Regions from separate parts of the Homo sapiens genome. Here all the other regions are linked to region 1. Evidence: promoter capture Hi-C in 16 types of primary human blood cells and fetal thymus (Javierre and others, 2016). All regions are on one chromosome and are shown on one strand. Each heading gives the region's core, a stretch centred on a gene start or on the middle of the fragment in contact. The rest is flanking DNA. Distances are from core to core; before and after follow the strand shown.

The links. The method cuts DNA at HindIII sites, captures the fragments that hold promoters and counts their contacts. A CHiCAGO score of 5 or more calls a contact.
Region 2: a contact is called between a fragment that was not itself captured here and the fragment with the promoter of GGT6 in region 1, in 5 of 17 cell types (M0 macrophages, M2 macrophages, endothelial precursors and 2 more). The highest score is 11.5, in M0 macrophages.
Region 3: the fragment with the promoter of PELP1 here is called in contact with the fragment with the promoter of GGT6 in region 1 in 2 of 17 cell types (M2 macrophages and M0 macrophages); the score reaches 7.1 in M2 macrophages.

What each region holds. Positions count from the first base shown.
Region 1 is chr17:4,558,131-4,561,862 of GRCh38, reverse strand. GGT6 (gamma-glutamyltransferase 6) reads left to right here and starts at 1,286. Exons shown (of 4, transcript NM_001288702.2): 1 at 1,286-1,481; 2 at 2,103-2,305; 3 at 2,407-2,520; 4 at 2,806-3,732. The coding sequence starts at 1,342. The HindIII fragment of the contact is 2,996 bases long and covers 1-1,399 here.
Region 2 is chr17:4,426,839-4,430,369 of GRCh38, reverse strand. No RefSeq gene overlaps it. Among named protein-coding and RNA genes, the nearest start is that of SPNS3, 5.3 kb to the left of the region's middle. The HindIII fragment of the contact is 9,473 bases long and covers 1-3,531 here.
Region 3 is chr17:4,702,407-4,705,875 of GRCh38, reverse strand. It overlaps PELP1 (proline, glutamate and leucine rich protein 1), which reads left to right and starts at 1,739. Exons shown (of 17, transcript NM_014389.3): 1 at 1,739-2,013. The coding sequence starts at 1,765. PELP1-DT (PELP1 divergent transcript) reads right to left here and starts at 1,646. Exons shown (of 2, transcript NR_103482.1): 1 at 1,506-1,646; 2 at 347-677. It also overlaps the pseudogene RPS12P29. The HindIII fragment of the contact is 30,411 bases long and covers 1-3,469 here.

The DNA.
Region 1 (3,732 bases), core at 37-2,536:
TCAGATTAAGAAACAACATCTCGGCCGGGCGCGGTGGCTCACACCCGTAATCCTAGTACTTTTGGGAGGCTGAGGCGGGCGGATCACCTGAGGTCAAGAGTTCAAGACCAGGCTGGCCAACATGGTGAAACCCTGTCTCTACTAAAAATACAAAAAATTAGCCAGGCGTGGTGGCATGTGCCTGTAATCCCAGCTACTCGGGAGGCTGAGGCAGAAGAATTGCTTGAACCCAGGAGGTGGAAGTTGCAGTGAGCTGAGATTGCACCATTGCACTCCAGCCTGGGCAACAAGAATGAAAACTCTGTCAAGAAAGAAAGAAGAGAAAGAAAAGAAAGGTAAAGGAAAAAGGAAAGGAAAGAAAGGAAGGAAAGAAAGGACATCTCCAGCATTCCAGAAACCCCCTGGTACCTCCTCCAGTCACTATCTGACTTCTAAGGGCAGACTGTTGTTGCTCTTTTGTTGTTGCCTGTTTGTGTACTTTGTGTAAATGAAAGCATATAGCGTGCGCTGTCTCCTGCCTGGCTGCTTTCCCTCGTCCTTATGCTTGTCAGACCTGTGTATATTATTGCATATAATTGTAGATCACTCACTCTCTTTGCTGCAGAGTGGTCCATTGTGACTTACATCATTCATTCTAACGATAATGGATGTTTGGGCACTTTCCAATTTGGGACTGTTACAAACAGCACTGTTTTGCAACAAGTCCTTGATGGGAATCCCAGAATGAATTTAGAAATGTTGGTTTCCAGGCTGTGGCGCTACCTTCTGGACAAGAGTCGCAAAACACGCACAGGGAGTTACGAACCAAGTTGCTCCTCAAAGAAACCCAGACCCAGAGTAGCCACAGGCTGAGCCTTGACCCCGGCCAGAGACCAGACACCCCTACGCCAGAACCTAGTCACGTGCAGACTCAAGCACGTGGGAGCTCTGACCCAAGCCACCGTGAAACCGTAGCTCTAATTCAAGTCCACAGTCCCTAGAGTCCCAGGTGGGTGGGATCCATGGGCTACATCCCCCAAGGGGAGGAGCCCAGCAGGTGCCCTGAGTATCAAGGTTGTGGCATTAAGGCTGAACTCCTTCTCGACCTCACTGAGCTGTGGCCCCTTACAGGCAGTCACCCCGGGAACCCTGTCGCGAGAGCTCCTCGGGCCTTGTGTCCTAATGGGGCAGGCTCACATGCAGCCTCCTTGGCCCCGTGCCCTGCCCAGACCTGTTCTGGATTCCACCCCCACCCTTCCCCAAGGTCGCTGCCACCTCCCACCTGCCAGGCTTGGGCAGGGCCTCTGAGACACAGCCGGAAAGGCTGGCAGGCAGGAGGGCTGGGGCGAGCACTGGGGGGCCATGGAGCGGGCAGAAGAGCCCGTGGTCTATCAGAAGCTGCTGCCCTGGGAGCCAAGCTTGGAGTCGGAGGAGGAAGTGGAGGAGGAGGAGACATCAGAGGCGCTGGTTCTAAACCCCCGGAGGCACCAGGACTCTTCCAGGTAAGTAAGGGAGGGGTCTGGGCACCAGGCTCCCCAGGCTTGAGGTTGGCAAGTCCCTCTCTCTGGAGCCCCTCAGGGGGACCAGGCGACTCCCCGCTGGGTTTAGCTCCAGGCACTGTACGGTCAATTTGGGGGAAAACCCAGGCTGTAGCCCGAGACTTGGCCTGACCCAATCAAAAGTCTGTGCATCTGGAGGGACATTTGTACCAAGCCAGCCTCTGTCCCATCTGCTGCTTTGTCAAAGGTCCCCAGCCCCCAAGTCCTGGTGCAGGAGGCACCTGCTGGGCAGGTTGGGGCCTGACTACGCCTGGCTGGGCCTGCTCCCCAGCCCCTTCTCTCCTGCCTGCCACACCCCACTGGGCCTCCCTCCCACCTGAGTGGACTCTGCCCCACCAATCTCCCCTCCAGAGGCTCCCTCCCTAGCTAGGCTCAGTTTCCCCAGATGCTTTCCCATCCCCATGTCTGCCCAAGATGCACCCGCTGCCAAGAAGCCCTTTCTCCTTGGCTGACTTGTGCTCCTCTTGCTAAATCAAACCTTTTGGGAAATATTCCCTGGGGTCTCTTGGGGTCCTTGGGCATCCCTCTGTCCCAGCCGTGGCTCAGGACACCCCCCCTCTGCAGGAACAAGGCTGGCGGGCTGCCCGGAACCTGGGCCCGTGTAGTGGCAGCCCTGCTGCTGCTGGCTGTTGGCTGCTCCCTGGCTGTGAGGCAGCTCCAGAATCAGGGCAGGTCGACAGGAAGCTTGGGCTCTGTGGCCCCTCCACCCGGCGGACACTCCCACGGCCCTGGCGTATACCACCACGGTGCCATCATCAGCCCTGCAGGTCAGTCAGTGCTGGGGGCGGCTTGGGGAGGGGAGGGTCAGGGGTCACCAGCCCAGCCTAGCCCCCCTCCTTGCTGCATGACAGTGCCTTCCTTGCTGCAGCCACATGCTCCCACCTAGGCCGAGAGCTGCTTGTTGCCGGGGGCAACGTCGTGGATGCTGGAGTTGGAGCTGCATTGTGCCTGGCAGTGGTGCATCCTCATGCCACGGGGCTAGGTCAGTGACCCCTGACCCCAGACTGCAACCCCAACCCACAGCCTGATCAGTGACCTGGAACTTAGGGAGTCAGTAGCACTGACCTCAAGACTGCTAAGTGAGCAGGACTTAGGGTTTGGGCAGCAGTCCAACCCCAGGCTATGACCCTTGAGCCCGGGTCTGTGGAACTTTGACCTCAGGCCTGGTCAGTAACTCCTGATCCCAGGCTCAGTCAAGGGATCTTGACTGAAACAAGTCAGTGACCCTTGACCTGCGGCTGCTGAGGGACCCCTCTGTCTCCTGCAGGTGCCATGTTTTGGGGCCTCTTCCACGATAGCTCCTCAGGCAATTCCACGGCCCTGACATCAGGCCCAGCACAGACCCTGGCCCCCGGCCTGGGGCTGCCCGCGGCTCTGCCCACCCTGCACCTGCTGCATGCACGCTTCGGCCGCCTGCCCTGGCCACGCCTGCTAGTGGGCCCCACCACGCTGGCTCAGGAGGGCTTCCTGGTGGACACACCCCTGGCAAGGGCTCTGGTGGCTCGGGGCACAGAAGGCCTCTGTCCACTACTTTGCCATGCTGATGGGACACCCCTGGGCGCTGGGGCCCGAGCCACCAACCCACAACTGGCAGCTGTGCTTCGCAGCGCAGCCCTCGCTCCCACCTCAGACCTTGCTGGGGATGCTCTACTGAGTCTACTGGCGGGAGACCTGGGGGTGGAGGTGCCCTCGGCTGTGCCCAGGCCCACTTTGGAACCAGCAGAGCAGCTACCTGTGCCCCAGGGCATCCTGTTCACCACCCCCAGTCCCTCAGCTGGCCCAGAACTGCTGGCACTGTTGGAGGCAGCCCTGCGCTCCGGGGCGCCCATCCCTGACCCCTGCCCACCGTTCCTGCAGACTGCTGTGAGCCCCGAGAGCAGTGCCCTGGCCGCCGTGGACAGCAGCGGCTCTGTGCTCCTTCTCACCTCCTCGCTCAACTGCTCCTTTGGCTCTGCACACCTGTCCCCAAGCACTGGGGTTCTGCTCAGCAACCTGGTGGCCAAGTCTACCACTAGTGCCTGGGCCTGCCCCCTCATCCTCCGTGGCAGCCTGGATGACACAGAGGCTGATGTGTTGGGGCTTGTGGCTTCAGGGACCCCTGATGTGGCCAGGGCCATGACTCACACCCTACTCAGGCATCTGGCAGCAAGGCCCCCTACCCAGGCCCAGCACCAGCATCAGGGTCAGCAAGAAC
Region 2 (3,531 bases), core at 195-2,694, 130 kb after region 1:
AGGTCAGGAGATCGAGACCATCCTGGCTAACACGGTGAAACCCTACCTCTATTAAAAATACAAAAAGTTAGCTGCGCATGGTGGCGGGCGCCTGTAGTCCCAGCTGCTCAGGAGGCTGAGGCATGAGAATGGCATGAACCCAGGAGGCGGAGCTTACAGTGAGCCAAGATCACGCCACTGCACTCCAGCCTGGGCGACAGGGTGAGATTCCATCTCAAAAAAAAAAAAAAAAGAGTTTGAAATCAACCTGACCAACATGGTGAAACCCCGTCTTTACTAAAAAATCCAAAAAATTTAGCTGGGCATAGTGGCACACACCTGTAGTCCCAGCTACTCGGGAGGCTGAGGCATGACAATTGTTTGAACCCTGGAGGGAGAGGTTGCAATGAGCCAAGATGGGACCACTGTACTCTAGCTGGGGCAACAGAGCAACTTTGTCACTCTGTCTCAAAAAAAGAAAAAAAAAAAAGAAAAGAAAAGAAAACAAAGACTCAAACAAATACTTGTACATAAATGTTCATGGCAGCACTGTTCATAACAGCCAAAAGGTGGAAACAGCTTAAACGCCCATCTGATAAATGGGTCAAGAAAATGTGGCATAATCATACAATGGAATAGTATCCAGTCATAAAGAGGAAGGAAGTACTGATTCATGCTACAACACGGATAGACCTTAAAAACATTATGCTGGCTGGTCACAGTGGCTCACGCCTGTAATCCCAGCACTTTGGGAGCCCGAGGCAGACAGATCACCTGAGGTCAAGAGTTTGAGACCAGGCTGATCAACAAGGTGAGACTCCATCTCTACTAAAAATACAAAAATAATCCGGGTGTGGTGGCACCGCACTTGTAATCCCAGCTACTCAGAAGGCTGAGGCAGGACAATGGCTTGAACCTAGGAGGTGGAGGTTGCAGTGAGCCGAGATTGTGCCACTGCACTCCAGCCTGGGCGACAGAGTGAGACTCCGTCTCGGAAAAAAAAAAAAAGAAAACATTATGCTAAGTGAAAGACACCAGACACAAAAGGCCACATATTGTATGATTCCATTTATAGAAAATATCCTGCACAGGTATAGTCACAGAAACAGAAAGTAAATGGTTCCTAGAGGCTAAGAGGAGAGGAAAATGCTTAATGGGAAGACAGTCCCCTTGGAGAGTGATGAAAATGTTTCAAAACTAGATAGAGGAGATGGTGTCACAACACTCTGAATCCACTCAATGCCACTGAATTATATCCTTTAAAATGGTTACAATTTTAAGTAATGTAATTACCTCAATTTTTAAAAAACATTAAAGAAGCCGGGCTTGATGGCTCGTGCCTATAGTTTCAGCTACTTGAGAGGCTGAAGTAAGAGGATTGCTTGAGCCCAGGAGTTTGAGAACAACCTGGGCAACACAGCAAGATCCTATTTCTTTAAAAAAAAGTTAAAGCAAACAAACAAAAAAGTAGGAGCTTTACAGTCTGACCGGCCTGGATTCAAAATCAAATTTTGCTACTTTCTAGTTGTGTGCCTCAGGCAAGTCTCTAACCTCTCTGAGCCTCCGAGTTCTCATTTGTTTTCTTGTTTAGAGACAGAGTCGCCCCAGGCTGGAGAGCAACTGTGCAATCTCAGCTCACTGCAACCTCCGCCTCCTGGGTTCAAGCCATTCTCCTGCCTCAGCCTCCCGAATAGCTCGGACTACTGGCACACACTGCCATGCCCAGATAATTTTTTGTATTTTTAGTAGAGACAGGCTTTCGCCTTGCTGACCAGGCTGGTCTAGAATTCTTGACTTCAGGTGATCCGCCTGCCTTGGCCTCCCAAAGCGCTGAGATTACAGGCATGAGCCACCATGCGTGGATAATTTTTTGTATTTTTAGTAGAGACAGGATTTCGTCATGCTGACTGGGCTGGTCTCGAATTCCTGAGTTCAGGTGTTCTGCCTGCCTCGCCCTCCCAAAGTGCCGGGATTACAGGCGTGAGCCACCACGCCTGGATAATTTTTTGTATTTTTAGTAGAGACAGGCTTTCGCCATACTGACTAGGCTGGTCTCGAACTCCTGACTTCAGGTGATCTGCCTGCTTCGGCCTCCCAAAGTGCTGGGATTAAGGCACGAGCCACTGCGCCCAACCAGTGTTCTCATTTGTGATAGAGAATAATAAGATGGGTTGGGCGTTGTGGCTCATGCCTGTAATCCCAGCACTTTGGGAGGCCAAGGCAGGCAGATCACCTGAGGTCAGGAGTTTGAAACCAGTCTGGCCAACATGGTGAAACCCCGTCTCTACTAAAAATATAAAAACTTAGCCGGGCGTGGTGGTGCATGCCTGTAATCCCAGCTACTCGGGAGGCTGAGGCAGGAGAATCACTTGAACCCAGGAGGTAGAGGTTGCAGTGAGCCGAGATTGCGCCATGGTACTCCAGCCTCGGCAACAAGAGCAAGACTCAGTAAGTCTTAAAAAGAGAATAATATGACGATGTTTCAGGGGTTAATTGTGAGGATGAACTAATATAGATACACATACTGTTTCCAACATAGAGCTTGTCATGTGACAAACAGAGTGTAGAGTATTGTTATTGTGGTGGTGACGATGATGACGAGGTCCTTGGCATCCACTGCCTGGTTCAGCCGCATACCGTCTCGGTGACCACCCACATGGGGTCTACAGTTGGTGAATGAAGGGGAAGTTCAAGATCATCCATGCGCACGTGCAGGCGGTCTCGCATCCTGCTTCAGAACCTGTACTCCGCAGCTAGACTCACTGCTCACTGGCCATAGGATCTCAGGCAGATCACTCAACCTCTCTCCATCTCAATTTTCTCACCTACAAAATGGGGATGGCCAGGCACAGTGGCTCGTGAATGTCATCCCATTACTTTGGGAGGCCAGGACAGGCAGATCGCTTGAGTTCAGAGTTGGAGATCAGCCTGGGCAACACGGCGAAACCCCGTCTCTACTAAAAATGTAAAAATTAAGGCCGGGCGCGGTGGCTCACGCCTGTAATCCCAGCACTTTGGGAGGCTGAGGCGGGTGGATCACCTGAGGTCAGAAGTTCGAGACCAGCCTGACCAACATGGTGAAACCCCGTCTCTACTAAAAAAAAAAATTTTTAATACAAATACAGATACAAAAATTAGCCAAGGATGGTGGTGCATGCCTGTAATCCCAGGATCACCTGAGCCCAGGAGATCAAGACTGCAGTGAGCCGTGATCGCACCACTGCACTCCCACCTGGGCGACAGAGTAAGACTCTTGTCTTGAAAATAAATAAATATAAAACAAATAAAATGGGGATAAAAATAGTACACACCTCATGGGACTGTTGTGGCTTGAATACGATGATGTTTGAAAAGTGCCTAGAACTATGCTTGGTATGGAGGAAGTATTGTGAGTGTTAAATATAATGGGGTTTTCCCCAGCACATGTAGATGAAACTTTGTTCTCAGCCCCTGCCCTCAGAGCCAAAGAGTAGTGGGCAGAGCTACATCCACAAGTGTGAGTGCATGAGGAGAAGGTGGGCACACGAGCACCCACACCCCCACTCACACACA
Region 3 (3,469 bases), core at 490-2,989, 140 kb before region 1:
CTTGGGAGGCTGAGGTAGGAGAATCACTTGAACTTGGGAGGCGGAGGTTGCAGTGAGCCGAGATCGTGCCATTGCACTCTAGCCTGGGCGACAGAGAGACTCCTCAAAAAAAGAAAAATGATGACTCTTGGATTTGAATCTAACAATCACAAAAGTACACAAACATAAACATAGAGGTATTAGCGTGTTCACTACAGTTTGCATTAGCAAAAAGCTGGAGCAGCCTTTAAGCATTAATTCAGCAATAGAATTATTAAATCATGGTGCACCCATTTCATTCATACCACAGTTTAAAAAACAGCATAAAGAAGGCCATGAGTGAAAACAAGCCACACGCAGACCCCAATCTTGTAAAATATTCATTTATGTGCTTGTGCATAGACTAATATTAGGAAAGTATACACGCTACTGGGGCAGGGCTTTGCGGGGGAGGAGCAGTTTTTCTTTTTACTTTATGCCTTTCTGTACTGTTTGAATTGGCTTTTGCAAGGCGCACGTCTTGTATCATTTCTGAAGTTGCAAATGTAGTTAAAAATGTCTGTGATTTCAAGTTACCTAGAGAGTTATTGATTCCTTCTCTTTCCCTGCCGCTGCCGAGTTGCGCGGAGGCGGAGGCTTGGGTACCTTCAAGATTCAGCTTCACTTGTAACCCACCGCCACGGCCGAGGAAGGCATTGCTGCTGGAGGGGTAATGGATGTTAATACTGCTTCACAAGAGGTGCTGAAGACCGCTCTCATCCACCATGACCTAGCACGTGGAATTCGCGAAGCTGCCAAAGCCTTAGACAAACGCCAAGCCCATCTTTGTGTGCTTGCATCCAACTATGATGAGCCTACTATGTATGTCAAGTTGGTGGAGGCCTTTGTGCTGAACACCAAATCAACCTAATTAAGGTTGATGACAACAAGAAACTAGGAGAATGGGTAGGGCTCTGTAAAAATCGACAGAGAGGGGAAACCCCGTAAAGTGGTTGGTTGCAGTTGTGTAGTAGTTAAGGACTATGGCAAGGAGTCTCAGGCCAAGGATGACATCGAAGAGTACTTGAAATGCAAGAAATGAAGAAATAAATCTTTGGCGCGCGTACACACACACACACGTTACTGATTCCTAGGCAGGGTGCGGTGGCTCATGCCTGTAATCTCAGCACTTTGGGAGGCCAAGGCGGGCGGAACACCTGAGGTCAGGAGTTCAAGACCATCCTGGCCAACATGGTGAAACCCCATCTCTACAAAAATACAAAAAAAATTAGCCGGGCGTGGTGGCGCGCGACTGTAATCCCATCTACTCGGGAGGCTGAGGCAGGGAAATCGCTTGAACCTGGAAGGTGGAGGTTGCGGTGAGCCGAGATCGCGCCACTGCACTCCAGCCTGGGCCACAGAGCGAGACTCCGTCTCAAAAAAAAAAAATGAGAGTTATTGATTCCTACAGCGAAGATGTCCCAAGACTCCGTCCGCTAAATGGAAATCGTTCCGACTTTGGCGCCTTTTGTCCGGACCACGTGTACCTTTAACATCACAGGACCGCCTCGGACACGCTCACAGGCAGCCTCATCCGCCATCACTCCGGGAACCGAGCACCCCGCTGCCTCGGCGCCCAGGCTGCTCTCTCCGCGCATGCTCCTTCCCAGCTTGAGCCCGCGAGTCCAGCCTGCCTTCACTCAGTGCGCAAGACCGCAGCCCCCTCCCCACGCCCCCTCCCCAGTAGGCGGCCGTCGCGGTGTGTTTGCGTCATCGCGCCACGCCACCACTGGAACCCGGGGGAAGATGGCGGCAGCCGTTCTGAGTGGGCCCTCTGCGGGCTCCGCGGCTGGGGTTCCTGGCGGGACCGGGGGTCTCTCGGCAGTGAGCTCGGGCCCGCGGCTCCGCCTGCTGCTGCTGGAGAGTGTTTCTGGTTTGCTGCAACCTCGAACGGGGTCTGCCGTTGCTCCGGTGCATCCCCCAAACCGCTCGGCCCCACATTTGCCCGGGCTCATGTGCCTATTGCGGCTGCATGGGTCGGTGGGCGGGGCCCAGGTGAGTCCGTGGCCCGCGTGCCCGCGGCCCTGTGGGGAGGATGGCGCGGCACCTGTGCGCCGGGATTACGGTGCAGTGCAAGTGCGATAGGGAGGTTGAAGGAAGGAGAGCTGCGGGCAGAAAGGGGATCCAGGTATCAGTCCGGACGGGATGCACGTATTTCTCCTTTATCGGCCATGAGTTTCTCCAGGGGAAAAATGGGCCTTATTTTTCTGTTGTTAGGCTATTGGTCGGCACACAGGAATCGATTAGGTTCCAGGCCCGGTCACTCACTAGTTGTATAATCTAAAAGTCTCTTTTTCCTCTGGCAATATCTGTTTCGGGGATTGTTTCGACTGACTGAATGACGCATTCAACAATAAACATTTACCGAGCTCTTATTGAGGGTCAGATACTGTACTAGGCGCTCCGGTTACAGACGTGGTGGCGATACACAAAATGCTGCGAAACAAGATGAGAATTGAATATCAGGGGTCTCTAACCTTATCTGAAGACTGGCAGAGATTTTTCCAAAGAAACCGGCGTTTAAGCTGAGACCCTAAGGATGAATAGGGGTTGGGTAGGGAAAAAATATGGGAGGGGCTGTTCAGTCAGAGGAGAGCTCATGTGGGAAGACCCTGTGGTAGGAAGGAACTGGAAAGAAGGGCATCGTTCCTGGGGCTCAGATGTGGAGGGGAAGAGAGTGGGTACAGATGAGACTGGTGAGATGGGTAGGCAGTGGTCGGGTCATGCAGAGCGTTTTAGGCCGGGTTAGGAGCCTTTGGACTTCTATAAGAATGGAATCTGATAACCATTCAGTTCTGCAAGCTAGACACTCAAGTAATTCTAAACTCTTCTTCATACACCTCCATAAGCAATCTGTCAAGTCCTGTTGATTTTATCCTTTGAGTAGTTTTCAGATCTGTCCACTCTTTTCCATCTTTCTCATTGCTCCCATTCTAGCTTGAACCCCCACCATCTTGTCCGGGTGAAGGCACTGATTCTAAGAAGGCATATTTCTAGCCCATAATAGCTGCTCCTTATAACAATCTCCTATCTTCCCTTCTCTCCCACTAAACCTCCCCCAAATTCTACCCATCCTTCAAGACCCATAAACACGAGATCTTCTGTGTCCACCCTTCATTCCTGGGACCTTCCTAGCTCTATGCTACCTTCCAGGAAGATGGTTGTCACAATTTGCTGGGTGGGTCAATAACCTTAGCCCCAGATTTATCACAGATAACCCTATCTGTTTGTCTTTAACATTACTCTGCATAATTGAGGGTGACAAAACTATATCTCTGCTATCTCAGCCCAATATCAGAGGCTGGAGCTGATTATGTATTTTCTCTTGTCTCTAAATTCCCCTCTTCTAATTTATGTGGTTTTCATCAGTCAGTTATATTACAGTGGGGTTTTTCTGTTTTCTTTATCTCACAATAGTCCCAGAATTATTATTATTTTTGAGACAAGGTCT